4 separate regions of the Homo sapiens genome follow, and regions 1, 2 and 3 are each linked to region 4. Evidence: promoter capture Hi-C in human tissues and cell types (Jung and others, 2019). All regions are on one chromosome and are shown on one strand. The core of a region is centred on a gene start or on the middle of the fragment in contact, and the rest is flanking DNA. Distances in the headings are between cores, read along the strand shown.

Evidence for each region. The method cuts DNA at HindIII sites, captures the fragments that hold promoters and counts their contacts. A contact is called where the count stands out against the background at its distance.
Region 1: a fragment that was not itself captured here is called in contact with the fragment with the promoter of SIX3 in region 4 in 1 of the 25 tissues and cell types used here (H1 embryonic stem cells).
Region 2: a contact is called between a fragment that was not itself captured here and the fragment with the promoter of SIX3 in region 4, in 1 of the 25 tissues and cell types used here (H1 embryonic stem cells).
Region 3: a contact is called between a fragment that was not itself captured here and the fragment with the promoter of SIX3 in region 4, in 2 of the 25 tissues and cell types used here (H1 embryonic stem cells and lymphoblastoid cells).

The regions. Positions count from the first base shown.
Region 1 is chr2:44,081,030-44,083,729 of GRCh38, reverse strand. No RefSeq gene overlaps it. Among named protein-coding and RNA genes, the nearest start is that of LRPPRC, 86 kb to the right of the region's middle. The HindIII fragment of the contact is 8,452 bases long and covers 1-2,700 here.
Region 2 is chr2:44,175,143-44,177,842 of GRCh38, reverse strand. All of the region lies in intron 1 of PPM1B (protein phosphatase, Mg2+/Mn2+ dependent 1B), which reads right to left. Among named protein-coding and RNA genes, the nearest start is that of PPM1B, 7.6 kb to the right of the region's middle. The HindIII fragment of the contact is 5,147 bases long and covers 1-2,700 here.
Region 3 is chr2:44,059,888-44,062,587 of GRCh38, reverse strand. No RefSeq gene overlaps it. Among named protein-coding and RNA genes, the nearest start is that of LRPPRC, 65 kb to the right of the region's middle. RefSeq lists enhancers at 325-898, 1,734-2,269. The HindIII fragment of the contact is 6,972 bases long and covers 1-2,700 here.
Region 4 is chr2:44,940,433-44,943,132 of GRCh38, reverse strand. SIX3 (SIX homeobox 3) reads right to left here and starts at 1,431. Exons shown (of 2, transcript NM_005413.4): 1 at 223-1,431. The coding sequence starts at 1,028. SIX3-AS1 (SIX3 antisense RNA 1) reads left to right here and starts at 1,255. Exons shown (of 2, transcript NR_103786.1): 1 at 1,255-1,423; 2 at 2,300-2,700. RefSeq lists enhancers at 1-388, 1,471-1,997. The HindIII fragment of the contact is 28,963 bases long and covers 1-2,700 here.

The sequences.
Region 1 (2,700 bases), core at 194-2,693, 860 kb after region 4:
GCAGCCCCCTGGCTTTGGCTGTTCTTGCACTGTGTTTCCATACCATTCTATATGTCCCTTATCAAAGCTGGAATCATGATTTATGAAAATCACTTGTTTAAACCCTAAGCTAACTAGAAGCATCAAGAGTACCAAAGCCAGACCCCACCTGTCTTGCTCACCATTATCTCTTCACACGTAGTCTAGTGCCTGACATGTAGTATATGCTGGATAAATATTTTTTGGATAAATATTTTTTAGATAAATGAATAAGCAAACATTTAATAGAAGCTGTTAAAGGCCTTTCAATCTCACAGGTTTCTGACACTCTTACCCTTTGTACCAGAAATGCCCAAGGCCGCTGGGACAGCAGTGGGCCAAAAGTCTCAGGACTCACATTGCTGTCCTTGGCAAGGGGGCACATCAAACCCCACAGAAGACCGCTGGAAGTGACAGCTCAGTTGTGAACTAATCCAGACTGAAATATAAGCAGTGGGTCATTGTCTGCTCCCTGGAGACATTGGCTTCTTGTGGGAGAATTGCAAAGTGGGGCTGGCACAGATCATTGTGCAGTATTGGCGGGCTCCAGTGTGAGTGCAGTGTTGCCTAATAAACACTTCTAATTTCCCTTTTTTTTTTCTTTTTGAGATGGACTCTGGCTGTGTCACCCAGGCTGGAGTGTAGCGGCAGGATCTTGGCTCACTGCAATATCTACCTCCCGGGTTCAAGCAATTCTGCCTTAGCCTCCCGAGTAGCTGAGATTACAGGCGCCGGCCACCACGCCTGGCTAATTTTTGTATTTTTAGTAGAGACGGGGTTTCACCATGTTGTCCAGGCTGGTCTCAAACTTCTGACCTCAGGTAATCCACCCACTTCAGCCTCCCAAAGTGCTGGGATTACAGATGTGAGCCACTGCGCCCGGTCCACTTTTAATTTCCTTTTGATTCACTTTGATCACTAGTTCATTCTGTGACCTCCACTGATTATATTATGTGTTCAAAGACACAATACCCTTCATGTCCAACCTACTTTGTGACATTCTGTTTATTTCAGAACAGGGTTTACTCAAAATGCCCTGTGCCAGAGAGGCAGGAGTCACCTCTGCAGGTATCACATGTGGAATGAGAACAACCAGGAGAGTGTCTTTGAGGAGGCAGTATGATGTCTTGAGAAGAGCACTCGATTCGAGAATCTAGAAGGGTTTCAAGTCCTGATGTGCCAGCATTTGAGTATGGGAAGGTCAGCAGGCACCAGCAACCAAATTCCTTTAAAGTCTTACTGAGTAGCTTGGACTTTCTCCTGTGCCCTGGGGCATGACAGGGCCAAATCAGAGTTTGTGTTTTTTTTACTGAGACAGGGTCTCGCTCTGTTGCCTAGTCTGTAGTGCAGTGGCATGATCCCAGTGGCCTCAAACTCCTGGGCTCAAGCGATCCTCCCACCTCAGCCTCCCGGGTAGCTGGGATTACAGATATGTGCCACTATGCCTGGCTAATTTTTTTTATTTTTTGTAGAGACAGGGTTTCACCATGTTGCCTAGGCTGGTCTTGAACTCTTGTGTTGAAGCCATCTGCCTGCCTCGGCCTTCCAAAGTGCTAGGATAACAGGCGTGAGCCACCATGCCCACCAAATCAGAGTTTTTGAAAGATCTTTTTGGCAATAGTGTGGAGGGTTTATTGAAGGGGAAAAATTGGATTGGAAGTGACAAGATGAGTTAAGATATAGTCCAAGTGAAAGGTGATGGGGCATAGACCAGGACTGAAGCACTGGAGATGAGAAAGAGAATGAATAAAGACCTTTTAGAAGGAGAACTGGCCTGGGTATGGTGGCACATGCTTGTAATCCCAGTGCTTTAGGAGACAGAGGTGGGAGGATTGCTTGAGCACAGGAGGTCGATGCTGCAGTGAGCCATAACTGTGCCACTGCATTTCAGCCTGGGTGACAGAGTGAGAACCTGTTTCTGAAAAGAAAAAAAGCCAAGCGGGGTGGCGTGCACCTGTAATCCCAGCTACTTGGTAAGCTGAGGCAGGAGAATCGCTTGAACCACGGAGGTAGAGGTTGCAGTGAGCTGAGATGGCACCACTGCACTCCAGCTTGGGCGACAGAGCAAGACTCTTTTTCGGAAAAAAAAAAAAAAAAGGCAGCAGCGGCAGAACTGACAGAAAGGATTTAGAGATATGAGGAGAAGGGGAAAGAAAGGGAAAGTGAAAGTCAAATGCATCTAGGGTCCAGAGTGCATCACACAAACAGGAATAATGTTGTTTCACAAAAGCTTTGTACTCCTGCATAAATGTATGTATGTATGGGTTGGCAGGCATTATAAAATATATCTCTTGACCAGGCGCAGTGGCTCACACCTGTAATCCCAGCACTTTGGGAGGCTGAGGCGGGCGGATCACGAGGTCAGGAATTCAACACCAGCCTGGCCAATATGGTGAAACTCTGTCTGTACTAAAAATACGAAAATTAGCCGGGCATGGTGGTGCGTACTTGTAGTCCCAGCTACTCGGGAGGCTGAGGTAGAAGAATCGCTTGAACCCGGGAGGCAGAGGTTGCAGTGAGCCAAGATCGCACCACTGCACTCCAGTCTGGGCAACAGAGCAAGACTCTGTCTCAAAAAAAAAAAATAATAATAATAATAACTGCATTTCTTTCCAGGGTGATAAAAAAAAAATTATACAACATGGACTATATCAGTGTTTCCCAAACTTCAGTCATTTGCAT
Region 2 (2,700 bases), core at 114-2,613, 770 kb after region 4:
AAAAAGAACTGCAAAAATATTAAGTGACAAGAACAAATTGTAAAAAAAAAAAAAATTCTGTATATGGTCATGTACATACACCTCTTAAAACAGTACTATATGCTATTTAGAAATACATACATGTAGGCCGGGCGCGGTGGCTCATGTCTGTAATCCCAGCACTTTGGGAGGCCGAGGCGGGCAGATCTTGAGGTCAGGAGTTCGAGACCAGCCTGGCCAACATGGTGAGACCCCTGTCTCTACTAAAAATACAAAAATTAGCTGAGCGTGGTGGCACGTGCCTGTAATCTCAGCTACTCACGAGGCTGAGACAGGAGAATTACTTAAAACCTGAAGGCGGAGGCTGCAGTGAGCCGAGATCATGCCACTACACTCCAGCCTGGGCAACAAGAGCAAAACTCCGTCTCAAAAAAAAAAAAAAAAAGGTTATTTCACTTTCACATTGCAATTCCAAACACTCCAGAACAGATGAATAGAAACAAACTCAATTTCCTTAAGTTTAGGACTAGCAACCACCAAAGACTTAATAAAATGTTAGATTATATAAACAAAACCAGTTACAAGAGATAATTTTTTTAAATTCAAGTAAGGTTGTTTTTGGTTATTTTTAAATCTAAGATAGATGGCCAAATGTTGAACAACTTAATGAATCTGGTCTGAATTACAGTACTAAATTTAATATATTCCAAAATTTCAAGTTCTCTTGCATATCAGCATTTTGATAAAGTAACAGAATTACAAAAATACATTAAAAATGAAACTAGGCCGGGCACGGTGGCTCATGCCTGTAATCCCAGCACTTTGGAAGGCTGAGGCGGGCAGATCACCTGAGGTCAGGAGTTTGAGACCAGCTTGGCCAACATGGTGAAACCCCGTCTCTACGAAAAATACAAAATTAGCTGGGCGTGGTGCCGCAGGCCTGTAATCCCAGCTACTTGGGAGGCTGAGGCAGGAGAATCGCTTGAACTGGGAGGTGGCGGCTGCAATGAGCCGAGATTGCACCACTGCACCCCAGCCAGTTGGTTGATTTGCTTTAAAATTAAAAAAATCAATCTTGATTCACTTTAGCAATGAAGATCAAATGAAACTGACTCATAAATGAAAGCACAAGACCACCAAGCATTAAAATAAGAACAAAAAGATGAAAGATCTTTTATGCTTAAGTTTGCAATGTTTGTATAAACTGAAGAAGAGGCCTCTTTACCAAACTGGTTCAGTAGGAAAGCAATAGAAAGAACAGAAAGCAAAAATTAAGCACCTGCTTCACACATCTAAGTGCAATACGCCCATCTCACATGCAGAAAAAACAAAGGCACGACGTTAAGTAATACAACAAAGCTATGGAAGGAGAAGCAGTGATAAATATATAGACCAAGTTGTGCACAATAAACCAAGAGACAAATTGGCTCCATTAGCCATCTTTGCTAAGAGCACAAAAGTAGCCATTACAAATCAGTACCAGGCACTATTGGTCAACCACTAATCCTTCAGCTATACTCACGTAAGAACAGAAAGCTTTTTAAACATAAATGACAACATATATTTTATAGGTATATCCCAATTATTTAAATCAGACTTAAAAAATCCTGTTCACCCTTCTCCTATTGTTCCACCTTTACTCCCATCCTCCTTTCCAGGAACTCATCTATCCAAGGATGTACAGTAAATGGAAACACCTGAAGGCCCCAAATTTCCCTCATGTCTGTCTAATGCAGGGATCTCTTTTTCTCTCTTTGGGTCATCTTTTAATCTTAAACCAGGCAGGGCATGGTGACTCACGCCTGTAATCCCAGCACTTGGGGAGGCCGAGGCAGGTGGATCATGAGGTCAGGAGTTCCAGACCAGCATGACCAACATAGTGAAACCCCATCTCTACTAAAAGTACAAAAATTAGCCAGGTGTGGTGGTGCATGCCTGTGATCCCAGCTACTCGGGAGACTGAGGCAGGAGAATTGTCTGAACCTGGGAGGCGGAGGTTGCAGTGAGCCGAGATCATACCACTGCACTCCAGCCTGGGTGACAGAGTGAGACTCCGTCTCAAAAAAAAAAAAAAAAAATCTCAAACCAATGTCTTTCTCTAAGGCACAACAATATTTCCTCTTTCCTCTTTTCAGTCTAGTTTTTATCCAATTACAGAAAACCTCTTCCTTTCCTTTTGTTAAAAATAGTAAAGCTCTAATCACAGCTTTTAAGTTTAGTGTACAAAACACACACACCCCAAATCTTCCACTCAAGTTTTTAAGCCAGCCACATAAGGAGTTCAGCTGTAATGTAAACTGTGAGTTGCTGGTTAACAGAATGCAAGATCGTCAACGACAAGGATTTGGGATTTTGTCTGTTTTGTTCAGATACTGGCATGAAATGGGGGCCTTTGCACACAGAAGGCACTCAGTGAACATAAGAATTGGCTGGAGGGTTACAGACTAAATACTATTAGACTGTTCTGAATTCTTTACTTCTCAGTGGGTTGGTAGCTCAGAGTAAATAAAAGCAGAAAGCCTCCCAAAGCTCAACAAAATCTCCTATATAATCTTAACATTTGGAGTGCTTTGAATTAATTATGTTCCCCCACCCCCACTTTTGTTTTTTTTGAGACGGAGTCTCACTTTTGCCCAGGCTGGAATGCAGTGGCGCGATTTCAGCTGGGTTGAACCTCCACCTCCTGGGTTCAAGCGATTCTCCTGTCTCAGCCTCCTGAGT
Region 3 (2,700 bases), core at 200-2,699, 880 kb after region 4:
GACCTCAAGTGATCCGTCTGCCTTGGCTTTTCAAAGTGCTGGGATTACAGGCATGAGCCACTGCACGCAGCCATTTGAGAGCAATTCTAAAAGACTATCCCAGCTTCAGAGCTCCCCACGGGATCAATGGAGGCCTTTATTAACAGTGCCAGAGCTCAGTTTCTCTCTCTGCTTAGTCCTTACTCCCTTACAGTTATAGTTGCCAAGAGCAGCTCCCTGTAACCTCCCTAGGTTGCCACCTAAAGCCCTCATGTCTCCTCCAGGGAAGTGTCTGAAAATTCACTGAAAACCAACTGACTAAAGGTAGATTCATTGGAGAAAAGGCATAAAAACATTAACATGCATGGGAGGAAATTACAGACTGATCACCCAAAAAACAGTGCAGTCCAGAAGCTCCCCTTTTTTCATAAGGGAGGGGGGAGATGGGAATTGTAGACAATTCTTTGAAGGGGTAGTAAATCATTAGGGAGAACGAATGGCGTTGGGAGGCCACCAGTACAGAAACGTAAGGAACAGAGGTTGCTTCACAGGAACAAAGGTTGTCTTATTATGCAACTAAAGTTCCCCGCTGCGGGTAATCTCTTGGAGCTACCCGCATAACAGAGGAAAAGTCAGCCTCGGCATGGTGATGACTTGAGTCTCTTCTCTCATGGTTGATCATTCCTGGTTAGTTGATGAGATCCCCAGGGAGGGAGTCTTAAGACAATTGCATTTAAGCGTTCTTAGAAGTCAGATAAGCAAATTCCAGAGAGGGTCCCTTCTATTGCTTCTTCGGGAAAAAGGACCAGAGCGACAGGGAGGTTGGGGCAAAGAACAGAGAGAGACATTGGTTCTGGGACTTATTTCTGAAGTGAGGAGAGCCTCTGCCCGGCCGCCCCACCATCTGGCAAGTGAGAAGCGCCTCTGCCCAGTCGCCGCTCCGTCTGGGAAGAGAGGAGCGCCTCGCCCGGCCGCCACACCGTCTGGGAAGTGGCCCCTCTGCCCAGAGGCCACCCTGCCTGGGAAGTGAGGAGCACCTCTGCCCGGCTGCTGTGCAACCCTCCAAGTGTGAAGTGGCTGCCGTGTGTGTGATCTTTCTGCCCTCCCCAAGTTTTCATTTTTGACATTAAAGTTTACTTTTAAATTTTTTTTAAAAAAAAGAAGAAAAAGGGAGCCAGAATGGGGACTTTTCGGAGCAGCGCAGAGCAACGGGGAGGAAGACGCAGGATTGGTTACCTGTGTTTTCCTTTTTTGCATGACAGCCCTCACTGACACAGCCAGACCTGAGGCAACCCTTTCAACCCACCTAGGGAAAAGAACATGTTTCTGCCTTCAAATGTACTTGTTATAAACTTTGCCCCAGGAGGCAAAATGAAATTATAGCCAAGCCTACACATCAGTGAGCTGTATTGTGATAGAAAACATCAAACAACTCTTTTGTACTTTGGATTTTGATTCACAGTAAAACTTTCCACTAGAAATCAATATTGACTTCTCATCACCTGCAGGTCAATATACCTTAATGAACCTTGGTGTCACCTCCCCTTTCTCTACTCTTTTTACTCCTAGAGACTTAGAGAGCTCAGAAGACAGGAAGATGTGGGAAAGTTTGGAACTTCCTAAAGACTTGATGAATGGCTTTGATCAAAGTGCTGATAGTGATAAGGATGATGAAGTCCAGGCTGAGGTGGTCTCAGATGGAGATGAAGAACTTCTTGGGAACTGGAGTAAAGGTGACTCTTGCTATGCAATGAGACTGCTGGAATTTTGCCTCTGCCCTAGAGATCTTTGGAACTTTGAACTTGAGAGAGATGTTTTAGGGTATCTGGTAGAAGAAATTCCTAAGCGGCAAAGTACTCAAGAGGAGGCAGAGCATAAAAGTTTGGAAAATTTGCAGCCTGCTGATGCAATAGAAACAAAAACCCCATTTTCTGGGGAGAAATTCAAGCCAGCTGCAGAAATTTGCATAAGTAACGAGGTGCCAAATGTTAATCACCAAGACAATGGGGAAAATGTCTCCAGGGCCTGTTAGAGACCTTCACAGCAGCCTCTCCCATCTCTGGCCCAGAGACCTAGGAGGAAGGAAATGGTTTCTTAGGTCAGGCCCAGGGACCCCCTGCTGTGTGTTAGCCTAGGGACTTGGTGCCCTGCATCTCAGCCACTCCAGCTGTGCCTAAAAGGGGCCAAGGTACAGCTCAGGCCATGGCTTCAGAGAGTGGAAGCCTCAAGCCTTAGCAACTTCCATGTGGTGTTGAGTCTGTTGGTGCACAGAAGTCAAGAACTGAGGTTTGGGAACCTTTGCCTAGATTTCAGAGGATGTATGAAAATGCCTGGATGTCCAGGCAGAAGTTTGCTGCAGGGGCAGAACCCTCATGGAGAACCTCTGCTAGGGCAGTGAGGAAGGGAAATGTAGAGTTGGAGTCCCCACACAAAGTCCCCACTGGGGCACTGCCTAATGGAGCTGTGAGAAAAGGTCCACCATCCTCCAGACCCCAGAATGGTAGATCTACCAACAGCTTGCACCATGCGCCTGGAAGAGCTGCAGACACTCAACACCAGCCTGTGAAAGCAGCCAGGAGCGGGGATGTAACCTGCAAAGCCACAGGGGTGGAACTGCCCAAGGCTGTGGGAGCCCACCTGTTGCATCAGCACGGCCTGGATGTGAGACATGGAGTCAAAGGAGATTATTTTGCACCTTTAAGGTTTAATGCCTGCCCTATG
Region 4 (2,700 bases), core at 182-2,681:
TCTCTGCCCTGACGAAAGCCCCTCTTGGTCAAAGCAATCAATACACCCACAGCCAGCCCGGCCCCCTCTTCCGCGCGTCCCGGACAAGCGGAAACTTTCTCCGACTGGCCAGGAGTCACGGCTTCCCTGGCTCTCAGCGGCCGCTCCGCTAGCCCCATCTCAACCCCTCTCCCCTTCCCAGGCCTCTGAGGCTGTAGCCAGGCCGCGGGCCCCGCCACTAACCTGTTCTTGGCCGCCGCGGCGCGGTCGCGCTGCCGCCGGTTCTTAAACCAGTTGCCTACTTGTGTGGGAGTGAGGCCGGTGGCCTGCGCCAGTTCGCGTTTCTTGCTGGGGTTGGGGTAGGGGTCCTGTAGGTACCACTCCCGCAACAGGCTCCGAGTCCGCTCCTTGAAGCAATGCGTCTTCTGCTCGCCGTCCCAGATGGTGCGTGGCAGCGGGAACTTCTTGCGCACGCGGTACTTGTCCACCGGGCCGAGTGGGCGGCCGCGCAGCTTCTCGGCCTCCTGGTAGTGCGCCTCGAGCCACATGGCCTGCAGCTTGCCGTGAGACTCCTTGGTGAACTTGTGGTTCTCAAGGATGTGGTAGAGGTCGCGGAAGTTGCCCGTGTGGAAGGCGACCACGGCGCGCGCGCGCAGGATCGACTCGTGTTTGTTGATGGCCTCGCACGCCCCGGGGGCCACGGGCAGCGACCAGAGGAAGCGGCCCAGCCGCTCGATGTCGCCCGTCTCCTCCAGCGTCTCACAGACGCTGGCCACCTGCTCCGGCGAGAAGTTGAGGGTGGGCAGCTGGAACATGGACAACTCTTCCGGGGGGGCCCTGGAGCCGCCGCCGCCGCCGCCGCCTGCTCCGCCAGCACCGCCGCCTCCCGCACCGTTCCCGCCGCCGCTGCCGCCTCCCGCGCCGCCGCCGCCTCCCGCACCGTTCCCGCCGCCGCTACTCGCCAGAAGTATGGAGCGGTGGTGAGAATCGGCGAAGTTTGGCAACAAGAAGTGGGAGGAATAGAGGTCTAGGGGGGAGCGGAATACCATGGACTGACCTGAGAGGAGAGGAGAAAATTCAGGGAGAGGAAGAGAGAGGGGAGGAAGAGGAGGAGAGGGGCGATGAGGACCAGGAGGAGGGAGAGGAGAGGGGGGAGGAGGAGAAGGAAAGGAGGGGGGAGCAGGAGGAGGAGGGAGAGGAGGAAGGGCGTAAGGGACACCCACACCCCACACACATCCACACACACACACACCCGCGCAGCCACATAGAGAGGGAGGTAGGAGAGCGGCCCGGTGCGCGCGCGCAGAGAGAGAACCCGAGACAGAGAGGGAGAGGGAGAGGGAGAGAGGAGAGGGAGAGCCAACCACCGCCGAGTCAAGATTCAGCGATTCCACCGCAATCGCCCTAATGACAACAGCCTCATAATATCTCCCCTAAATCCACAGTGAGTGCAGCATTGAAACATTTTGTTTCGCTTTTCTATTGGTCTGTGGCGTGTCGTTGTGGCGTTGCCACGGCAACCACTGCCAATCACTGTCAGCCCTGCCAATCAATACCGAGAACGTAAGGACGGTTTTACCACTTAGCCAGAGGGCGGGGGGAGGGGGAGAGCAGGGAAGGAGGGAGAAGTGGGGGGATAAAGAGAATTTTTTTTATCTTTGCAACTCTTAATCTCGCTACCTCCCCCTCCTCTCTTCTCTCTTCTCCCTCTCTCTCCTCTTTTCTCTACCGCTGTCTCTGAGACTTCTTCTTCCCTTTTTCCTAAAGAAGTTGATCCAGAAATTCGAAAAGCCCTGGGCAGAGTTGTTGAATGGGATGTGCAATTAGAGAGGGGATTTTGTTGGGAGGCAAGAGGGTCCCCCAGGCTCCACATAGTCCAGGTCGGCAGGCAAGGAAAGACGGCTGACCAGCCCAGCGGGCGCGGTTTGCACATGGTTTGCACGTCGGGCCGCCTCTTTCTGCCTATGTGAGCACTAATAGTGGCAAGGAAGAAAGGAGAGATGAGATCATGGGGCCCACCAAGCACCGACCTTGGCCCAGCGGGCCGTGGCGCCAGCCGGGGATCCCGGATTCCGAGGGTATCTGGCGCCAGGGAGCCTGAGCCCAATTCCCAGGGTGCTGGAGGCCGCTCTTGCCTCCCCCATCGGTGCCCATGGACCGCATTCACCTCAACTCCCTCTTCATCAATTAGGCTTCTCTTTACTCCCTCCCCGGCCAAGGAGCCTCGATTTCCCCCACCACCCTGTATTTTAAAATAACAGTCCAAACAGTACACTTCTTTCCATCTTAAGAAGCAACTCAACTCTTTGTTTCTTCCCAGAATTCAGCTGCCTCTCTGAGGAGTGGTGGAGGAGCTGCGGGAGCCGAGAAGCCCAAGAGCCCTCTGGACCCAGAAAAGTCCTACAGATGCCCACTCCTCACCACACAACAGAAGGAGCTCTGGTCCTGCCTGCCAGCCCCAGAGGGCACTCAAACTTTGGAGGCCAGCCACCCGGATGAAGTGAATAAGGCCTGAAAATTGCTTGTTTGCTCGTATTGTAAAATAATAATAATTACCATTATTATTTTTAAACTGTCTAATTTCTCTAGGGAAAGTAACATCGAAAGCCTAAAACAGACGCCAAAAGGCCCATAGAACACAGAGGGCCCTCTCTGCCTCTGGCCACCACAGCCCCTAGGCCAGGCATGGGTATTTATTCTTAGGTATGTTGCTTTTAAGAA